3 separate regions of the Homo sapiens genome follow, and all the other regions are linked to region 3. The links are contacts of gene promoters, found by promoter capture Hi-C in blood cells and fetal thymus (Javierre and others, 2016). All regions are on one chromosome and are shown on one strand. Each heading gives the region's core, a stretch centred on a gene start or on the middle of the fragment in contact. The rest is flanking DNA. Distances are from core to core; before and after follow the strand shown.

Region 1 (2,700 bases), core at 71-2,570, 1.2 Mb after region 3:
CTACCCTACCCTTTCACACCTCTAGGCCCACTCCCAATTGGCAACCACTTTTAGTTAACTCTAAACAATAACGTTATGGGTATGAACACCAAAAGAAAAAAAAAAACTAAAAGTTATTTTTTGCCAATTGGGAGTGGGCCTAGAGGTGTGAAAGGGTAGGGTAGGGGTAACTATCTTCTCATTGTAAATCCTTCTGCAACCATGGGCTGGAATTACTTGAATTAAAAGCCTAAACAAACCAGAGTTTTCATGGCTGTTCATTACCTGTTAAATAAAACCCAAACATCTCAGAACCATTTTCTGTAACCTTGTTACTCAAAGTGTGGTCCCTTATTACTTGAAGTGTGGACCAGCAGCATGGCCATCACCTGGGAGCTTATTAGAAATGCAGGATCTTGGCTGGGCGCAGTGGCTCACACCTGTAATCCCAGCACTTTGGGAGGCCAAGGCAGGCGGATCACTTGAAGTCAGGAGTTCAAGACCAGCCTGGCCAACATGGTGAAACCCTGTCTCTACTAAAAATACAAAAATATTAGCTGGGCATGGTGGCGCATGCCTGTAATCCCAGCTACTCAGGAGGCAGAGGCAGGAGAATTGCTTGAACCCAGGGAGGCAGAGGTTTGTAGTGAGCCAAGATCGCGCCACCACGCTACATCCTGGGCGACAGAGCGAGACTCTGTCTCAAAAAAAAAAAAAAAAAAAAAAAAAAAATGCAGGATCTCAAGCCCCACCCCAGATTTACAAAATCAGAACCTACATTTTAACAAGATCCGCAGATAATTCATACGCACAGTCAAGCTTAAGGAGCATCTTGCTTGTAAGCCCAACGTGGACCTCTTCAGCTTCAGTACTGGTTGCCCTTTTCTACTCCGTTAGCCTGAATTCTAGCCCCTGGGGGGGGGGGGTGGTGTGTGTGTGTGTGTGTGTGTGTGTGTGTGTGTGTGTCTAGCTAAAATCCAGTCATCGTTTTATACCCAATTCCTCTGCTCCAGGAAGACTTCCAAGCCCTCTGCAGCTCTCTGTTACCGCTGTTCCTTAAACTCCCACATCTCTGACTGAAGCTGCTTAGACTTCATTCTGCAAACATGTATTGGGCGCCTGCTGTGTGCCTGGCTGGATTCAGTGCCAGGGTGGGGCGAAGGCGCTGAGGTCTCCGAGTGCTCTTTCAGGTCCAACTCCAGAATCGCCCAGCCCCACGCAATCCAGGGCCAGAGGTTGTGTGCGCAGCACTCGAATACATCCACAGACGGTGCTGCGCGGCTTTTCTGAGTGTTACGGCGCCCTCCTCCCGCCCCCGCGCCGCGCGGGCGGGGACCCACCGGTTTTGCTCCGCTTTAGCAGCGGCGAAGGGAGGACCCCCGGGAGCCGGTCCCCGGCGTCCGGTCGCCCAGCCCTTTTCAGGCTTGGGCCCGCATGGAGGGGACCGTGGAGTCCCAGACGCCTGACCTGCGGGATGTGGAGGGTAAGGTGGGCAGGAAGACCCCTGAAGGGCTGCTCCGCGGGCTGCGAGGCGAGTGTGAGCTGGGAACCTCTGGCGCCCTGCTGCTCCCAGGGGCGTCTAGCACCGGCCACGACTTGGGGGACAAGATCATGGCGCTGAAGATGGAGCTGGTGAGTGCTGAATCCATGGGCCAAGGGGACGAGTCCCTAGTGTAGGGCCGGGAGGGACGAACTCATGCTCCCAGAGTTAAGCTGGAGAGGAGGTAGTTAAAACTCTCCACCTAACTGCTCAGAATCCCTCCCAGATCAATCCGTAAACGCTGGGGTGGAGATGGAGTGACGTCCATTACTTGTCCCCCAAGAGTGAGTGGGGTGTTGATGGTCCTGAGGACTTGGGTTGGGAGCAGTGGGTTTTGGAAGTTATTCCTGCCAAATAATTGGGAGGAGAGAGATGAGGACTGGGAAGTACTGAGAACCCAACGCAGCACAAATTCCCCCCGCCTGTATGGGCCACCTATTCCCCGCCAGTCCCCGTTGTAAGGCAACCGGTTTTTTCTCCTTCTGCTAACCGGGAAAGGGTTTAAGTTCCTGTGAGGCCGCAGTGTTCCGCACAGAAAAGAAGTGGGTAAAGGGGCCTATCTGCTGAAAACTACCTGGACCAGGGGCACTGAAAACCTTCTCCGTTTCCTCTACATCCCCCAGCCCTACTTAAAATAATGGAAAGTTCCTAGACCCATAGCAGGGACAGAGAGTAGCAGCACCACTGGTGCTGATTCCCTCGCCTCAGACTCAGTCTCCTCCCAGCCAGTCTTCCAGGTAAACTGGATATTTGGATCTCATCTGTACATTCTTGGGGAGAAGAGGAAACAGCAACCCTCCCCTTTCTCTATTGCTGCTGGTCTAGATTCAGAGCCAAAAGGGCAGCCGAGGCCCTGGCAGGTTCCCCAGGGCCCTGATTCCGGTGAAGTGGGTGATTTACACCTGCCACTACTTTGCAGCCAGTTCTGGGGAACTGAGGAATTGCCATCGGCTTCCTGGCTCACAACCAGGAGCCCACAGTGAGTACGTCAGCTAAAGTCTTCCTGTGTGCCCAGCCTGTGCCAAGCTGGTCTGTGAAGGAGAAGGGGAAGGAAATCATGGGGGCTCTGAGACCAGCCAGGGCTCCGACGCCTGAGCTGAGAGGCTGGGAAGAGAGTCTGGTGGGTGGAGCAGTCAGGAAAGGCCCCCTGGGAGAAGGACTTGAATGCCAAGTGTGCACTT
Region 2 (2,965 bases), core at 317-2,816, 1.2 Mb after region 3:
CAGGCCCTTCCAGCCTGAGAGCCTGGTGTTCTCAGCCACCAGGGAACTCTGGCAGGGTGGGAGAGAGTGGGCTGCACCCGCTCATCCGGGAGCCACCTAAACTGAGGTGGTGGGTGCCCTCTGGCTGCTGCTGCCTCTGGGAGCCTAGATGGGGAGGAGAATTAGGAACCTGAAGGGGGAGGGGCAGTGAAGAAGCCATCATCGCAGATACAGCTAAAAATAGCTGGAAGAGATGATGTCATCTGGTTCCCACAGCTTAGCACCCCCATCATACACACACTCGAGCACAAACACACACTCTCACAGACACAGATACACACAGACACAAGTGTGGGCATGAGTGCATGCACACACACATACTACACACTCATATAGGGGAGGGAGGCTTCTGGGTCCCAGGGCCGCAGGGGCAGGGAAGTCTGGTGAGTGTGTCTGCATGCGTGTATGTCTGTGTGTGCCTGGGTTTGCATGAGTGTGAAGGCATGTGTCTGCATCTGGGTGCTTGTGTGCTTGTGTCTGGGTGCATGCATGTTTCTGTCTGTGTTCATTTAGAGGCATGCGTATGTGTTGTTACATATATCGTGTGGGGATCTATGCATTTGTGTCTGCGTATATCTGCTTATAGTATGTGCTTGCATGCATGTGTGTGGTTGTTGCAGTATGTGTCTATGAGTTCACTTATATTTACATGTCTGCATGTGTTTGTGAACTGTGTCATGTATCTTTATATGTATGGCCCCTCTTGGGCCCTTGAGCATGGCCCAAGCACCTTCTAGCTTTGACTGATGTTCAGCAACCCCCATCCCATAACCTGAGGAGCCCAGCACCGTCTGGGCATGGTGTGTCAGTGAATTCTCTGCCTCAACCCCCCTCAGGGTCCCAGTCTCTGGCAAGAGTTGGGGTAGATAGACATAAGCACAATTCACTTTCCCTTCACAGGCAGCAAAGGACATTAGCCACACTTCCTGAACCCCAGGGGGCCAGGCCACCAAAGGTCTCAGGGTTCACTCCCTTCCCTAGCCCCTTGGGAAGGTAGCCTGGAAATGCAGCCAGATCTCGGACCGGTGCAACACGTATTAGCCCATGCATGATGCAACATATTCGAGACAGAGTCCTACAAAATGTTCCCAGCGACTAAGACACAACCCCACAGAAACCCGGTTACAGCCAGTGACACATGAGCACACACTCAGAAATCCAAATGGAAAATCCCCAGGCCAGAGAGCTTAGCACCCTCCCTACTTTCTGGGCTCAAACTCAGTCTTGCCCCACCCCTAAGCACCCCAGCTCAGCTGCCAGTTCTGGAAAACACTGACCTCAGAGAATGGTTGAAGGGCCGAAGGTAGTATGCCTTTCTCAGAATCTCACCCTTCTCCATGTTCTCCTCCTTTAGGCTGTTCCCCATCCCCCTCCTGACCTTCACTTTTCTTACCAGGGCTGATGTCCTCTCCGGCACACCCATACCCTCACAAACGCTCCTTGACACTCACAGTCAGTCACAGAGGCACATTAAATCACAAAGGCACATTCAGCCACATCTACTGATACTCCTATTCTCCCGGCCTCAGACACACACACCAGCAGCTACACCTACACGCTGACCATCACAGGCACACAGAGGCACATCCACCTCACATCCACCTCATACTTGTGTACTCTCAGGGTTCAGTCTTTCATCCTATCCCTCTCTGATCTGTGCCTCCCAATACCTTCCAAGATGTTTACAGAGACCCTTCTCCCTGTGCAGTTAGGAGTGTAAGGCAAGAGAGCCCCTACTTCATGGGGCAGATCAAGAGCTGAGACCAAAGATGGTCTATGTTGCTGACCTTGTCCTGTCCTCCTGCTGTCTTAAACTATGATCCCTGCTGCGGTCACTGAAGCCTTTCCCTGTAAGTATTCAGCCATAACCCTCCCCTCACGCCCTGCATAGTCAGCTGGTTAACACCTCTGTGTGGAATAAGGCAGTTTGAGCAGAATGACTGTATTTGTTGTTCACCACCCACACGGCCCCTAGGAGATGCAGGTCCAGGGCAAACCAAGCTTCTGGGCTAGCTTCTGGGCACTTCTAGAGGATCAGAAAAATCCCAGGTTGCCTGAGATGTCTGAGAACTGAGGAGAGGAAGGAGAGGGAAGAGTTTGAGGAAGGAAGCAGTTCTGGAAGTTCCCTGCCTCTTGGATTCAGCCCCTCCCCAAACCCTCTGCTTCCAGCCAATCCATCCTCCATTAAGGCTGTCAGCACTTTGGGGTGCCTGCCATCAGGAGTCCCCCATATATGTAGGGGTGCTATTTCACAGAGATCATCCTTTGGCGTGCCTAAACAGAACCAGGTAGGGAAATCTTCACTGGCTCTGGTTTTTTTTTTTTTTTCTTGAGACAGAGTCTAGCTCTGTCACCCAGGCTGGAGTGCAGTGGCGCGATCTTGGCTCACTGCAACCTCTGCCTCCCGGGTTCAAGCAATTCTCCTGCCTCAGCCTCCCAAGTAGCTGGGACTAAAGGCGTGTGCCACCACGCCCGGCTAATTTTTTTTTGTATTTTTAGTAGAGATGGGATTTCACCGTGTTAGCCAGGATGGTCTCGATCTCCTGACCTTGTGATCTGCCCGCCTTGGCCTCCCAAAGTGCCGGGATTACAGGCATGAGCCACCGCACCCAGCCTAGTGGCTCTGTTTTTTAAAACCCCACCCTGGCTCACAGGCCCCCTGGCTAACCTTGAGGTGGGAAGATCCACACTATGGTGGTGTCAGTGTGGGTGTTGTTGATACCCATGGCCCTGGTGGCAGGATTGATGGCTGCACTGCTGGCAGTTCGACCTCGGAGACCCTGTTGATATCTTCTGCGGCTACACTTGAACATCCTGGGAAATCGGGGCCTGGGCCAGCCCATACCTGGCCTGCGGTAGGGGGAACGCATGCCCTGGGGCCGAGGGCCACGGACAAGCCGAGATGGCCCCATGGGCACAGGGAGCT
Region 3 (2,727 bases), core at 228-2,727:
CCAAGATGGGGAGCTGAACTGAGTGTGGCCTGTGGGGACCCTGTTTTAGTCCTGGCCTGCAGGTGGGGGTTCTTTCTGGATCTAGCCTTGAGGGGTGTGACTATATCTTGCCTGGGGTGGGAGGAGCCCCAGCACCCACCGTGTAGGAGGAAACGTCTATGCTCTCCACATACTGCTTCACGCTACCCAGGTTCTCATCCTCCTTGCCCAGGTGGTCATACAAGAAGTGGATCAGGTCCTCGTCGCACTCGTAGGTCCATGTCGGGGGTACATAGCTAAGCAACCCCAAGCCCCTAATTAGACTGGGCCCAGACGCAGAGCTCCTTCCTCCCCACCCCATTCCAGCTCACTCACAGTAGCCTTTGTACAGCTTCTGCGTATGCCTCTGCCGGCTGAGGTCTCGATCCCAGGCGATGTGAGTATGTCAGGTCCACCACCTGTTCCCACCTGTGGGCACAGAGTAGGGAGTGGGATGGGGAGACATCAGCGGTCAGCAAGACACTACCTCCATGCCGTGTAGCCTTCTTCAGGGCTCTATCTCCCAGTCTCCCTCCGAGCCCCCTTCACGTCCCGCCCCTTTCTGCTCTTAACCCTGCCTCCGCTCCAGTATCCCACCCACCCCAGGCTGTGGCTGAAGTGTTCCCAAGCCCTCCTGGCCCGGCCTTCTGACAGCCAGCCCCGCTCCTTCAAGTGCAGTACCTGAGCACCGGCCGATAATCCACGCCAAAGAGCTGCTGCTGCCGCTGGAGGTGGTTGGGAGTGTCGATGGGTACCAGGCGGGCTCCGCCCTCCGCCGGGCGGCACACCAGCAGCCAGCCTTCCTGCAGCCCGCAGTCGCCCAGGTGCTCTGCCAGCTGCTCCTGCCGGGACGCGTAGGATGGGGACAGCCGTCAGGGAACTGCCCAGCCGCCTGTCGTGCCCAGCCCAGGGCAAAGGGCGCCGAACGCAATGCCAACTCAATACAGGGGAGAAAAGGCAAACAGCCAGAGGTTTCTCTGGCCCCAGGGGTCTTTTACCGGGTCCTGGGCAGGGAAGAGCGCACCTTTGTCAGCTTCACCCAGAGCCCGTGGCCATTGCACAGCTCCTCGCCCGTGGTGCGCACGCAGGCGCCGCGCCGGAGCTCAATGCTGTCGCGGGCGGCGCGGAGGGGCCCGGAGCCGGTACCGGGGGCTGGGCCTGCGGCGCCCACACGCAGCCCCAGGCCCTCTGCCTCCCACACCGGCAGAAGCACGCGCGACGGTCCCGCTGGGTCCTTGTAAAGCTTGTAGAGCACCTCTCGCGGCACGAAAGCCAGCGCTGCTGGCAGCGGCCGCCCGGCGCGGAGGCTCCGCGCTGCCTCTGCCAAGAAGCGCACGCGGCCCAGCAGCTGCCGGGGGGACTCCAGCACCGCGCCCGGGCCAGGACCCGCCATGGCGAAGTGGCGGAGGTGAGCACCTAGAGGCGACCCTGCCCGGGGAACAGCTGGCGCGACCGCGGACAGAGCTTCCCACCACGCCCTTCCCCGCCTTTGGCCAGCCTTTGCCGTATGTTCTGGACTAAGCGCACCCCAGCTCTCACTGTATTGGACTGTGTACTCCCACACTCAACCATATTACTTATCTCTGTGCCACCCTAACCCAGCCGACCAAACCCAAGATTGGTGATTGCTACCTGATCAATCTCCCTCTCTCCATTTCCTTGTGACTACCATTTTATCTCTACTGCTACTACCCTCATTCAAGTCACCATTCTAGCTAGCCTGGGTCATTGCCAACAGTCATTTTTCTGGTTCTTCGGCCTGCTGTTTTTCCTCCCACTCCCAGCGAATCTGCTGGACTCCCTATCCTATGGGTGGTGTGATTAAAGTGTTTGAGACAATGGCCCCTTCCCCTGCCACTGACAGGAGTCTTGAGTCATTAGGGTTGATTCTGTTTGTCACTCCTAATCCCAAGGACACTGGAGATCATTATTCATTTTAATGTGATTGCTGATTTCTGTTTCCCCAGTCTTGTAGCTCCTTAAAGGCTGGGGCTGTCTTGAGCAGAGCTAACCTCTGCACCTACTATAGGTCCAGGCTATAGTATGGACCTGGCTGGATAAGACTGTTGGTATCATGAGTGGGACTTGCGCCAAGCCTCCGGATACCCAGACTGTCAGATGAGAACAAATTCCTCATGTCACCGTAAGATACATTTACAGCGGAGTTTTCTTTTGGGCCTTTGTTGTTGCGTCGCTACAGCAAACTTTACGGTGAAAAAAGGTAGGGGTCCTACGGGCAGCAGCCAGGGCAGCCCTGGAGCTGTCGCTGGAGTCCGATCATGTGATCTTCAACATGGCGACGCTCTTGGTTCCCTACAGAAAGGGGCGGAGCCTGGACTGGGGGGCAGGCTCAGATTCAGGTTAAATTGTGGATTGAGCTCGCAGTTACAGACAGCTGACCATGGAAGCGAATGGGTTGGGGTGAGTTCTCCAGAGCACGCGGTGTGGCTAGCCGGGCTTCTAATTTGAGTCTTCCAACTCAGGACTCTATCCCTCTACTCCCCTTTCCCCACCCTGGAGACCTCCCAACCTGAACTCCGTTAGCTGGGATCCTGAATCCTAAAACCATGGATTTTTGAGATGTTCATCCCAGGGCCTTAATTCAAGGGATGCCTCAGGATTTCCAACCAGGATCTCTATTCTGGGACCATCAACTCTGATCCCTCTTTATCCCCCAGCCTGGGTATTTCTCAGCCCCTGAACCAGCCC

The links. Contacts are between HindIII fragments. The CHiCAGO score rates a contact against its expected background, and 5 or more counts as called.
Region 1: a contact is called between the fragment with the promoter of LURAP1 here and the fragment with the promoter of HECTD3 in region 3, in 1 of 17 cell types (M0 macrophages). The highest score is 5.7, in M0 macrophages.
Region 2: a contact is called between the fragment with the promoter of TSPAN1 here and the fragment with the promoter of HECTD3 in region 3, in 4 of 17 cell types (total B cells, neutrophils, non-activated CD4 T cells and 1 more). The highest score is 14.5, in total B cells.

Annotation. Positions count from the first base shown.
Region 1 is chr1:46,202,014-46,204,713 of GRCh38, forward strand. LURAP1 (leucine rich adaptor protein 1) reads left to right here and starts at 1,321. Exons shown (of 2, transcript NM_001013615.3): 1 at 1,321-1,611. The coding sequence starts at 1,414. It also overlaps a transcript of POMGNT1 not described here. RefSeq lists a silencer at 1,242-1,361. The HindIII fragment of the contact is 3,345 bases long and covers 797-2,700 here.
Region 2 is chr1:46,173,521-46,176,485 of GRCh38, forward strand. TSPAN1 (tetraspanin 1) reads left to right here and starts at 1,567. Exons shown (of 9, transcript NM_005727.4): 1 at 1,567-1,889. It overlaps P3R3URF-PIK3R3 (P3R3URF-PIK3R3 readthrough), which reads right to left. Exons shown (of 10, transcript NM_001303427.2): 1 at 2,708-2,965. The coding sequence starts at 2,951. It overlaps P3R3URF (PIK3R3 upstream open reading frame), which reads right to left. Exons shown (of 2, transcript NM_001328655.2): 1 at 2,708-2,965; 2 at 1,966-2,109. The coding sequence starts at 2,951. The coding sequence ends at 2,066. It also overlaps a transcript of PIK3R3 not described here. The HindIII fragment of the contact is 4,826 bases long and covers 1-2,038 here.
Region 3 is chr1:45,009,847-45,012,573 of GRCh38, forward strand. It overlaps HECTD3 (HECT domain E3 ubiquitin protein ligase 3), which reads right to left and starts at 1,478. Exons shown (of 21, transcript NM_024602.6): 1 at 1,043-1,478; 2 at 700-860; 3 at 355-447; 4 at 140-275. The coding sequence starts at 1,411. UROD (uroporphyrinogen decarboxylase) reads left to right here and starts at 2,408. Exons shown (of 10, transcript NM_000374.5): 1 at 2,408-2,439. The coding sequence starts at 2,420. RefSeq lists silencers at 1,145-1,314, 1,395-1,524 and enhancers at 2,285-2,334, 2,375-2,504. The HindIII fragment of the contact is 5,887 bases long and covers 1,260-2,727 here.